3 separate regions of the Homo sapiens genome follow, and all the other regions are linked to region 1. Evidence: promoter capture Hi-C in 16 types of primary human blood cells and fetal thymus (Javierre and others, 2016). All regions are on one chromosome and are shown on one strand. The core of a region is centred on a gene start or on the middle of the fragment in contact, and the rest is flanking DNA. Distances in the headings are between cores, read along the strand shown.

What was found. The method cuts DNA at HindIII sites, captures the fragments that hold promoters and counts their contacts. A CHiCAGO score of 5 or more calls a contact.
Region 2: a fragment that was not itself captured here is called in contact with the fragment with the promoter of CEACAM18 in region 1 in 8 of 17 cell types (megakaryocytes, monocytes, M2 macrophages and 5 more); the score reaches 14.5 in megakaryocytes.
Region 3: the fragment with the promoter of SIGLEC10 here is called in contact with the fragment with the promoter of CEACAM18 in region 1 in 4 of 17 cell types (activated CD4 T cells, non-activated CD4 T cells, naive CD8 T cells and 1 more); the score reaches 7.6 in activated CD4 T cells.

What each region holds. Positions count from the first base shown.
Region 1 is chr19:51,477,289-51,480,756 of GRCh38, reverse strand. CEACAM18 (CEA cell adhesion molecule 18) reads right to left here and starts at 2,218. Exons shown (of 6, transcript NM_001405061.1): 1 at 2,063-2,218; 2 at 77-424. The coding sequence starts at 2,114. The HindIII fragment of the contact is 9,749 bases long and covers 1-3,468 here.
Region 2 is chr19:51,512,147-51,515,307 of GRCh38, reverse strand. No RefSeq gene overlaps it. Among named protein-coding and RNA genes, the nearest start is that of SIGLEC12, 12 kb to the right of the region's middle. The HindIII fragment of the contact is 2,005 bases long and covers 839-2,843 here.
Region 3 is chr19:51,416,059-51,419,469 of GRCh38, reverse strand. SIGLEC10 (sialic acid binding Ig like lectin 10) reads left to right here and starts at 1,828. Exons shown (of 11, transcript NM_033130.5): 1 at 1,828-1,925; 2 at 2,005-2,388; 3 at 2,520-2,804; 4 at 3,113-3,160; 5 at 3,303-3,411. The coding sequence starts at 1,889. SIGLEC10-AS1 (SIGLEC10 antisense RNA 1) reads right to left here. Exons shown (of 3, transcript NR_164125.1): 1 at 3,338-3,411; 2 at 2,740-3,041; 3 at 1,273-2,338. RefSeq lists enhancers at 1,599-1,668, 1,729-1,898. The HindIII fragment of the contact is 3,908 bases long and covers 1,390-3,411 here.

The DNA.
Region 1 (3,468 bases), core at 969-3,468:
GTATAATGTCCTTCTCTCAAATGTGTCACATCTAGCTCTCCTTGGGGGTTGGGAAACACAGCACCTGCTAACCCACCTAGAACCTCCAGCCAGCCGGTTGCTCTTTGGGTCTCATTGCCTGCAACCACCCGAACAGTGTAGTTTCCCGTGTCATTTAATGCAGTCGGCCTGATCAACAGGCTGCCTTCTCTGTTCACTCTCTCCCTGCCAGTGTACATGGGCCCAGGCTGCTGGGCACTGGGCGGTTTGTGGCTGATAATCATGTTTCCTGCGCTGTCGTTTGCACCCCAGTACCAGCTGTATTCCTGAACATCCTCAGGGACCTTATCCAGGGCCACGACAGTCCGATATCCCTTGATCCCCAGGGTTTGGGTGATGAAGATTTGGCCAGAGGCCTGGCAGATCCCACAGGCCAGCAGACTGGCTGAAGAAGACAAGGAAAAAAGACAGAGAGAAATTCACAAAGAGATTCAGACTGGCTGAGAAGACAAGGAAAAAAGACACCATCCGGGAACGATTCCCAGAGACGCTGGTGAACCAGGCAAGAGTTTCTGGCTCCTGGTAGAGTCCCCAGCTTGTCCCCTCCTGTGCCTCCCCTCAGCCCCTGCCGTGGTCCATTTTACCCTTATCTTCTCCCAGGCCCTCCTCGCTAGCCACACAGCCTCCAATCCATCCTCACATCACAGTTACGTAAATGTTAATAAGCCCAAGTTGCGACCCTGTTCTCCTCTGCTCAAACACCTTCCATGGCTCCCCAGTGCTCTTAGGATACAGTCCAAACTCTTAGGTGGGTATATGAAACACTCTCAGCCAGAGCTGGTGTTTGTGACTCATCGAGCCTCCTTGTGGTGCACACCTACCCCATCCTGTCCCCACTATGCACCTTTTACTCATTTATTCCTGTAGTTATTTATCAGAAGACATGACTGCCACGCTGTATGCCCCAGGCCTCTACATAGCTCTCTTGGTGCACCACACCTTCTCCTAACTCCAGGCTTCGCACACGCTGTTCCCCATTCCCGGCAGGGACTCCTTCTCCCTCCTCTCCATCTGCACCCTCCTTGCTGACTCACTTCTATTCATCACTCAGGTCTCAGCTTGGATGTCTCCTCCACCCCAGCCTGGGTCAGGTGTCCCCTCTGGGCTCCCCCAGCTCCTCCTGGGCTCCCCCCATCCCAGCCATGACCTCTGGGGGTCCTCAGAGTCTGGGCACATATCTATATCTCGCCCTGGACTGTGGGCTCCAGGAGGGCAGGACTGCCCTGTCTCAGTCACCACTGAGTCCCCAGCGCCCCTGAGCACAGGCTGGACACAGGGGGAGTTCAGTAATGATTGTCTGGGTGAGAAATACTCCCCCGAGAATTTCTACATGTCTTTGATTTTGCATCTAAATTCACTGGAGTGGGTGTGAATGGAGGCGGCAGCCTGTTACCACATATGACATGGGCAGTTGTCCACTGCCCTGTGAACCCCAAGCCTGGGCTATGTGGAGGAGGCAGAGATGCCTGAGACCCCGGCTCTAGGCCTCACGTATGGACACACTGGACCTGTTCAAGGACAGTACACGTGGTAAAGCAGGACAGTTGTGCTTGTAGGGGGCACAGAAGGTCCTGGGCAAAGGTGAGGGGCTGGGAAGGAATCTGGCCTGAGAGGTGGGGGAGGGGATGGGGCAGATTGGGGCACCCAGTGGGAGGTGAGTGCAGGGAGGTGAGGGTGAAGGTCCAAGCTCCTGATTCCTGGGCGTAGATAGAAACACAGTTTCTCTCTCTCTCTCTCTGTGTGTGCGCGCGTGTGTGTGTGTGCATGTGCGTGTGCGTGTGTGTGTAACACCACATGTGTGGGTCTGTGCAGGGGTGTGTCTAGGGGCAAAGTGTGCCCACGTGTGTGAGCTCATGAAAGTTGTGCTGAGGGTCCTCCCCCTTCTCCTCTCCCCGACCCCTGCTCTGGGAGTTTCTTGATGTGCCCGTGGATGGGGATGGTCCCAGCCCCCTCCCCGCCGCTTTGCTCCTAGCTGCCCTTCCCTCAGTCCTGGGAAGCTCATCCAGCATCCAGCATCTCTTACCCATGAGGAAGACCCTCCTCCACAGGCTCCATCTGGGTCTGGAAAGGTCCATGAGCTGCCTGGGGTCCTCCAGGAGGAGGGGTCCCTCCAGAGACACAGCCACCTCCTCTGCTCCCTCCAAGACCTGTGTCTCCTGGCACAGAGGCTGCCGGTCTCGTCTCCCAGCCTTCAGGGCGGCCTTTCCTCCCCAGGGTGCACTCTGACCAGCAGGGGTGGGGCCTGGGGAAGACGGCTCTTGAGAGCCCAACCTTATCTTTATGGCTTTATGTTGCCTTTAGTTCATTATTTATTTACTTATTTTTATAATAATTTACATTTTTTTCTCTGGTCATGAAAAAACGGAAAAACACAGGCTCACTGTTGGGAAAACAAAGAAAACCAGAAAATACAGCCAAGTGCCTCAAAGATAGGACATCAAACTCCTCAACTGTATGTCCTGTTTCCATTTGGTTTGGTTTTCCTATGCAGGGCCCAGCTTTTTTTTTTTTTTTTTTTTTTTCACGGAGTCTCGCTCTGTCACCAGGCTGGAGTGCAATGGCATGATCTTGGCTCACCGCAACCTCGTCTTCCGGGTCCAAGTGATTCACCTGCCTCAGCCTCCCGAGTAGCTGGGACTACAGGCTCGTGCCACCACACCCAGCTAATTTTTGTGTTTTTAGTAGAGACGGGGTTACATCATGCTGGCCAGGATGGTCTTGATCTCTTGACCTCGTTATCCGCCCACCTCGGCCTCCCAAAGTGCTGAGATTACAGGTGTGAGCCACCGTGCCCGGTGTAGGGCCCAACTTTTAGACTGCCTGGGGCTGTTTTACAACTGGCTGCTTTCCTCCTCAACAGTGGACTATTTCTCTATGTCACTAAATATTCCTCCCATGACCATTGTGAATGGCTGCAGGGAATGCTCTTCTAGACCTGAACCAGTGTGTGTATAACCAGATCCCTTTGTGAAAGTGCTCACAAGCCAAAAAAATCCCTGAGAAATACAGTGGGGAAGGCTGTGAAGCGAGGGCTCTCTGACAACAAAAATTTTCACAGAAGACGCTGCAGAAACCATAGTCTTGCACAAAAGCCATTGCTTCCTTCCACCAAAAAAATACTTCTGTGACAAGTATTTGGACAGCAACCTCCGGTCCAAACTTGGACTGACGTCACCCTCATTAGGGATCCTTGTAGCCTAGGGTAATTATCTCAAACCATTTATGGGGTCCTCCTCATTTTTCCATTGAAAACCCTTTGTGTTCTTTTACCTCCCTGAATATGCACGTAGTTTACTATAGCACCCAGATTCCCATTGCAATGCCCCATTCCTGAATACATATCATTTTCTTTTAGAGAGCTTCTCTCTGTTTGTTATTTAGGTTGACACTTTGTTGTTGGAGGGTCAGGCTGTTTCTAAAAACAGGGAT
Region 2 (3,161 bases), core at 592-3,091, 35 kb before region 1:
AGTATGCAGGAATATAAGGGAGAAAACATTACTTAATCTAATGCAAAATAAGCAGAAAGTAGTAAGCTGTATGAAAAGTTTTGAATACTTATAGAAAATGGACAAATTTCTGGGAAAAAATGTGTTACCTAACGCTGTAGGCATGGTTCAGTTTGTATCTGTCCTTCTGACCTCTCAGTCTCAAAATGAAAAGCCAAATGTATTTATGAAATTCTGCCACTAGGGGGAGTTCCTTCAGTCCCGCTCTCAGGTTCACTGTGGTTGAGTTTGTCATGATGCAAAAGTCCACTCCTTGCTGTGCCAGTTGATTGAGCAGAACCACTTGAAAACCAAGATGAAATGTTTTCCTCCTCAAGCAATGGCCATAAAGAACTGCCCATGAGGTCACACATGTGATTTCATGAAAAAATAAGGCAATATCCCAGGAGGAGTTGTAGGAATCTGGGTCACCTGCTCATGTCACTTGGTTGTGATTTCTGGACTTCTTGAAGCCCATCTTGAAGTCAGTTATATCATATCCAAATTCACTTCATAATGGATTATTGCTTCACATGCCCAACCTTTTAGCTTGATGGGTCACAGAGCACCTACTTCATGATGGGCAGTTTGTATTATATATTCGCTTCATATCCCATAGTAAGGGTATCAGTCTCTACCAAGGCCTGGTAATAAGTCAGAAGCTCTTTCTCAAGAGATCCATCATGTTCTCAAAAACAGAGCATGGCTTTGCAACAAAAGTCCTAGGGGTCTTCACTCTGGGGCACACCGACATTCTTAATTATTCCAGATAATTCAAGTATAATTTAATCTTGAGTTATAAACCTCAAGTTGTAAAGCTTCTTATACTACAGCCTGGACCTGCTGCAGAGCCTTTCCTTGAACTGAGAACAACTCCAAACTGGAAGTCTTAAGATTTACGTAGTAAGTGGGTTAGAGCATCCAATCATAGTTGTACATTTCCTCCAAAATCCAAAGGTGACTATCAAGAATTGAGCTTCTTTGGTAGGGGTAGGATGACCTCCCATTTTATCTCTGATCCTCTTTAAAGCTAATGTGCTCAACTTATCTCTAGGGATTAAGTAATGACACATTGCCTTTGACAATTCCATCATCCTGATTGAAAGCAGTGTGATTATATCCGTTGCAGTATTTCTTTCTGTCATCCCCAATAAACTGATCATAAATCTTAATCCTGTGTACAAAGCACCTTCACAGCAACACCTAGATTAACGTTTCATTGAATGTTCTGGGGACTATAACCTAGAAACATTGGCACATTAAACTGACCATCATAAGTATGTCAATATCAGAAAATATATCTTTTACCAAACAAAGTGTTAATGGAGATAAAAGGGCCAATTTTTTAAGGATTAAATATTCAATATACTAGGAAGATACATTAGAAATTTACCTGCACATGATAAAATAGCTTCAGAATATGTAAGGCAAAAATAGGCAAAGAATGGCTTCAGAATATATAAGGTGAAAAAAAATAGGCTGAACCAGGTTAGTCTTCACAGAGCTTTTCATGGACACTTGTGCTGTCTTTACCAGTATACTACTTGAGGGGTAAGAGCAGAGGAGATGAGGGTACAGGTTGAACTTTTGTCATTTTTTATTTTCCAACATTTTTAACTCTCTAAACCTTTGGGTTATTTTTTCTCCATTATGCCAAGAAAGTTCTGACATCATCCTCGTTAAATTTGGGTCATTGTTGAGTCCATTTTCATTGGAATATAGTGATAATATTGTTTCAATCAAACATAAAGCAAATTCCTTCATCCACCTGAGAGCTTCTTGAGCCAAAACATTGTATCTGTAATCTTTTGTTAGTACACCCGTATCAATATATTTGGCTAAGCCAGTGTAATATTTTATCTTTGTTGGTCTAAGATTCCTAGTGTCCACTTTAACATATATTTCTCAGGTGTCTGCTGATATAAATCAGAGAATCCAATAATTCCTTTAGAATGTAAGATCTTCTCAAGGGTCGGGCATTGCATTTACCCCATGGAAGAGACTTGCATTTTATTCTTGGTCTGGAATGAATAGTGATTGGGATGAGTTTTGAAGAGACTCAGCACCTTCCTGTGCTTGGGCAATCTCTCCAAGCAGAATTATTAGAGTCTTCCAGTAAGGAAAGACTAATCTCTCCAGACCAAGGAAATCAGGCTATATTCTGGTATCAAGAGAGTTTCAAAAAGTCTTGGGGCAAGGGGGTTGAAGATTTTCGACTTTATCCAAAGACCATGCATAGGGGTCATCCACATGTTCTTGGGTACTTGATCTTCATGCAAGACCCCTTTCCAAGCCCAAGCCCCTCAGTCCTTTCCAATAACTGCCCTAAATTTCCTATAAGAAGCGCAGACAAATCTTTAAATTCAAATTATGTCGTAATTCTTCAATAAATACAATTAAATTTGGGGTCTGATTTTTTTTTTTTTGCAAGATTGTCCCCATAGTCAAATGACATGAAATTGTTTGAAGTCATAAGGCATTTCTGTAGTTTACAACCATAACTTGACCTACAAGGTAAGACCTGAGCTTGGCACTTGCCCTTTGCAGGTTTTCCAGCAGAGTTAGGAGCAGAGAGTTTACCACACAGTCTTTGTGGTCATTAATGCTCACACAGCAGTGAATAGCATCGCCATTCGATCCTTCAAGGCATTTGCTTAATAGCCACTCAATCATAGGTAATTAATTAATCATGATGGCACTGTATGTGGAATTCTACGAAACATTTAAAGGAGAAATAATATCAAACTTTCCCAGACTCCCTCAGTAAATAGAGAAGGAGAAAACACTCATTTCATGAGGCAAAATTCAAACCTGATACCAAAGCTTCATGAGGACGTTACAAGAAAAGAAAACTGCAGATCACTGCACCTCATGAACATAGAAAAGTCTTCATTTAAATATAAGTAAATCCAATCCAACAAATAAAATTGACGTAATACATGATGACCAAGTGGGGTTTCACATCCAAAAATAAATGTAATTCACCACGCTACCAGAATAAAAGAGAAACATCAAATGTGCCTCTTGATTACTCCAGAAATAACGCTGGGCAGAATTTAAAACACATTTATAATTTAAAACAATCTCAACAAATTAGGACTAGAAGAGAAAAACTTCGATTTGATTAAGAGCATCTAAAAACC
Region 3 (3,411 bases), core at 579-3,078, 61 kb after region 1:
ATCATGCTACTGCACTCCAGCCTGGGCAACAAGAGGGAAACTCCATCTCAAAAAACAAAAACAAACAAACAAACAAACACCTCTGTCTCTACAAAAATTATCAAAAAAAAAAATCAAAAATTATCTGGGCGTGGTGGTGTGTGCCTATAGTCCCGGCTAGTTGGGAGGCTGAGGTGGGAGGATCGCTTGAGCCCAGAAGATGGAGGCTGCACTGAGCCATGATCACACCACTGCACTCCAGCCTGGGCAACAGAGCAAGACCTTGTCTCAAAAACAAAAAACAAAAATGCCATGGATGAAAGAACCAGGACAGGGCAGAGGCTGGGTCATCTCCTCCAGGAGGCCTCTCCTGACTTCCCTCCACCAGGAAGAGCTGACCACTCCTTCCCCAGGTCCCATCCTGAATGTCTGTCCAGCATCCAGTTCATTTAGGGGACCTTCTGTACTTTGTTTCTAAGAATCTTCATTTGCTAACCTGGGGCCCTGGAGCTGACTCACCATGGAGGATTCACCTCCAAGTCCCCCTAAAGCTCAGTGCTTGATACCCAAGGTATGTGGAGGTTGAAGGATGAGTTCTGTGTTTCGGTGTGACCCAAACAGAGTCATTTCAGGAAGAGCTCAGTGAGGGGAAAACATCTTGTAGAGTTTACTCCATTCATTGCAAATTACCCCTTCCCTAGTCTGTTCCCCCCACTCTGCCCCTCACTCCCGCCTTCCTCAAACTCTTCCCATCAGCATTAGCTTTGGACATATGTGTTCTAATCCCAATGGGTGTCCCAATTGAATGACAGAGGAGGAAGGGAGACTGGGAAGTGGACTAGGGCCTGGTTGGGGCAGGAGACTGCTTCTGGGGACCAAGGGTCAGTGAGCTCACCAGGAAGCATGAAGAGGTGGAGCTGACACCACCCTACGGTGGCCAGATTTAGAAAAAAAGAAATTCAACATGCTCAGTTAAATTTGAATTTTAGGCCAGGTGCGGTGGTTCACACCTGTAATCTCAGCACTTTGGGAGGTCAAGGCAGGTGGATCATTTGAGGTCAGGAGTTCAAAACCAGCCCTGCCAACATGGTGAAACCCCACCTCTACTAAAAATACAAAAATTAGCTTGGCGTGGTGGCGCGTGCCTGTAAGCCCAGACTCAGGAGGCTGAGGCAGGAGAATCACTTCAGCCTGGGAGGTGGAGGTTGCAGTAAGCAGAGATTGCACCACTGCACTGCAGCCTGGGTGACAGAGTGAGACTCTGTCTCAAAATATAATTAATTAATTAATTAATTTGAATTTCAGATAAATTTATTTTGCTTTCTGGTATAAGTATATCCCATGCAGCATTTCGGACATACTTATACCAAAAAACATAAAATAAAATACTTTATATTGTCTGTGAAAGCTTTAACCAGGCATCCTGCATTTTACCTGACAAGACCAGCCCCCTCCAGTAACGGTCCCTTCCCCTGTACCCACCACCTCCACCACCAGTGGCCCAGATAAGGGTAGCTCACTGTGGACTTCTCACTTCTGCTTTTCCGATGACCCAGGGCCCAGAGGGAGAGCCCCCACCCCACTACCCCACCCCCAGCCAGGCCCCCAGGATAGACACAAGCCTGCCCTCTCCTCCTACACAGGGAGCTCTGGAAGGACCAGCTCAACAAGCCCAAGGCCAGGCTGGGCCCCCAGGAGACCCAGAGGACAACTGGGCAAGGTGGGCCGGAGAGTGTGGGGGAAGGCAAAGGAGTTCTGTGAGCTCAGCGTCTGAAGCTCATTTCATGCATCAGGCCCCAGGGCTCAGCTTCCGCCTTCGGCTTCCCCTTCTGCCAAGAGCCCTGAGCCACTCACAGCACGACCAGAGAACAGGCCTGTCTCAGGCAGGCCCTGCGCCTCCTATGCGGAGATGCTACTGCCACTGCTGCTGTCCTCGCTGCTGGGCGGTGAGTGGGCCAAGGGCCGGAAAGGACCTGGGGCGGAGCTAGGGCTGGGGTTGCAGGTTGAGCCTCTGTCTCCCCACAGGGTCCCAGGCTATGGATGGGAGATTCTGGATACGAGTGCAGGAGTCAGTGATGGTGCCGGAGGGCCTGTGCATCTCTGTGCCCTGCTCTTTCTCCTACCCCCGACAGGACTGGACAGGGTCTACCCCAGCTTATGGCTACTGGTTCAAAGCAGTGACTGAGACAACCAAGGGTGCTCCTGTGGCCACAAACCACCAGAGTCGAGAGGTGGAAATGAGCACCCGGGGCCGATTCCAGCTCACTGGGGATCCCGCCAAGGGGAACTGCTCCTTGGTGATCAGAGACGCGCAGATGCAGGATGAGTCACAGTACTTCTTTCGGGTGGAGAGAGGAAGCTATGTGAGATATAATTTCATGAACGATGGGTTCTTTCTAAAAGTAACAGGTATGGAATGGGGTGGGAACCCCTGCCTCTCACACTGGGGAGGGACCCTGGGGACAGCCTATGGGCTGAGCAGAGAGGGCTCTCAGGGACCCCTGCAGCACAAGAATCTCCCACCACGGTCTCTGTCCCAGCCCTGACTCAGAAGCCTGATGTCTACATCCCCGAGACCCTGGAGCCCGGGCAGCCGGTGACGGTCATCTGTGTGTTTAACTGGGCCTTTGAGGAATGTCCACCCCCTTCTTTCTCCTGGACGGGGGCTGCCCTCTCCTCCCAAGGAACCAAACCAACGACCTCCCACTTCTCAGTGCTCAGCTTCACGCCCAGACCCCAGGACCACAACACCGACCTCACCTGCCATGTGGACTTCTCCAGAAAGGGTGTGAGCGCACAGAGGACCGTCCGACTCCGTGTGGCCTGTGAGTGTGGCCTGGGAGGGTGGGGTGTGCAGACAGCCCCGGTGGGTGGGGAGGTGGAGGAGCCCAGTGGGACAGTGAGCGGCTCCCAGCTCAGGAGCATCCAGGGAGAGGAAGCTGTGGGGTCCCAGGATGCCGCCGCAGCCCTGGGAGGGGGATGGGAATGGCGTCTGGTCCACACACGTGAGCCCTGGCGCTGGTTGTCACTTGTCTTCCCGGGATAGTCCCACTTTCTTTTCCCTGAGGGAGTTTTTTCCAGGTGTGAGGAATAAATTGTCCCTCCCTGAAGCCAGCTCACAATCTTGTTGCAGATGCCCCCAGAGACCTTGTTATCAGCATTTCACGTGACAACACGCCAGGTACTGAGGGCCGTCGGGCTGGGGCTGGGCCAGTTGTCTTTAGATGAAAAGGCTTCAGGGGATGAGGGGATGTGCTCCTCCCTGTACCCCTTCTCTCTTTCTCCCTCCCTTTCTCTCTTTTTTTTTTTTCCTCCCACTCCAGCCCTGGAGCCCCAGCCCCAGGGAAATGTCCCATACCTGGAAGCCCAAAAAGGCCAGTTCCTGCGGCTCCTCTGTGCTGCTGACAGCCAGCCCCCTGCCACACTGAGCTG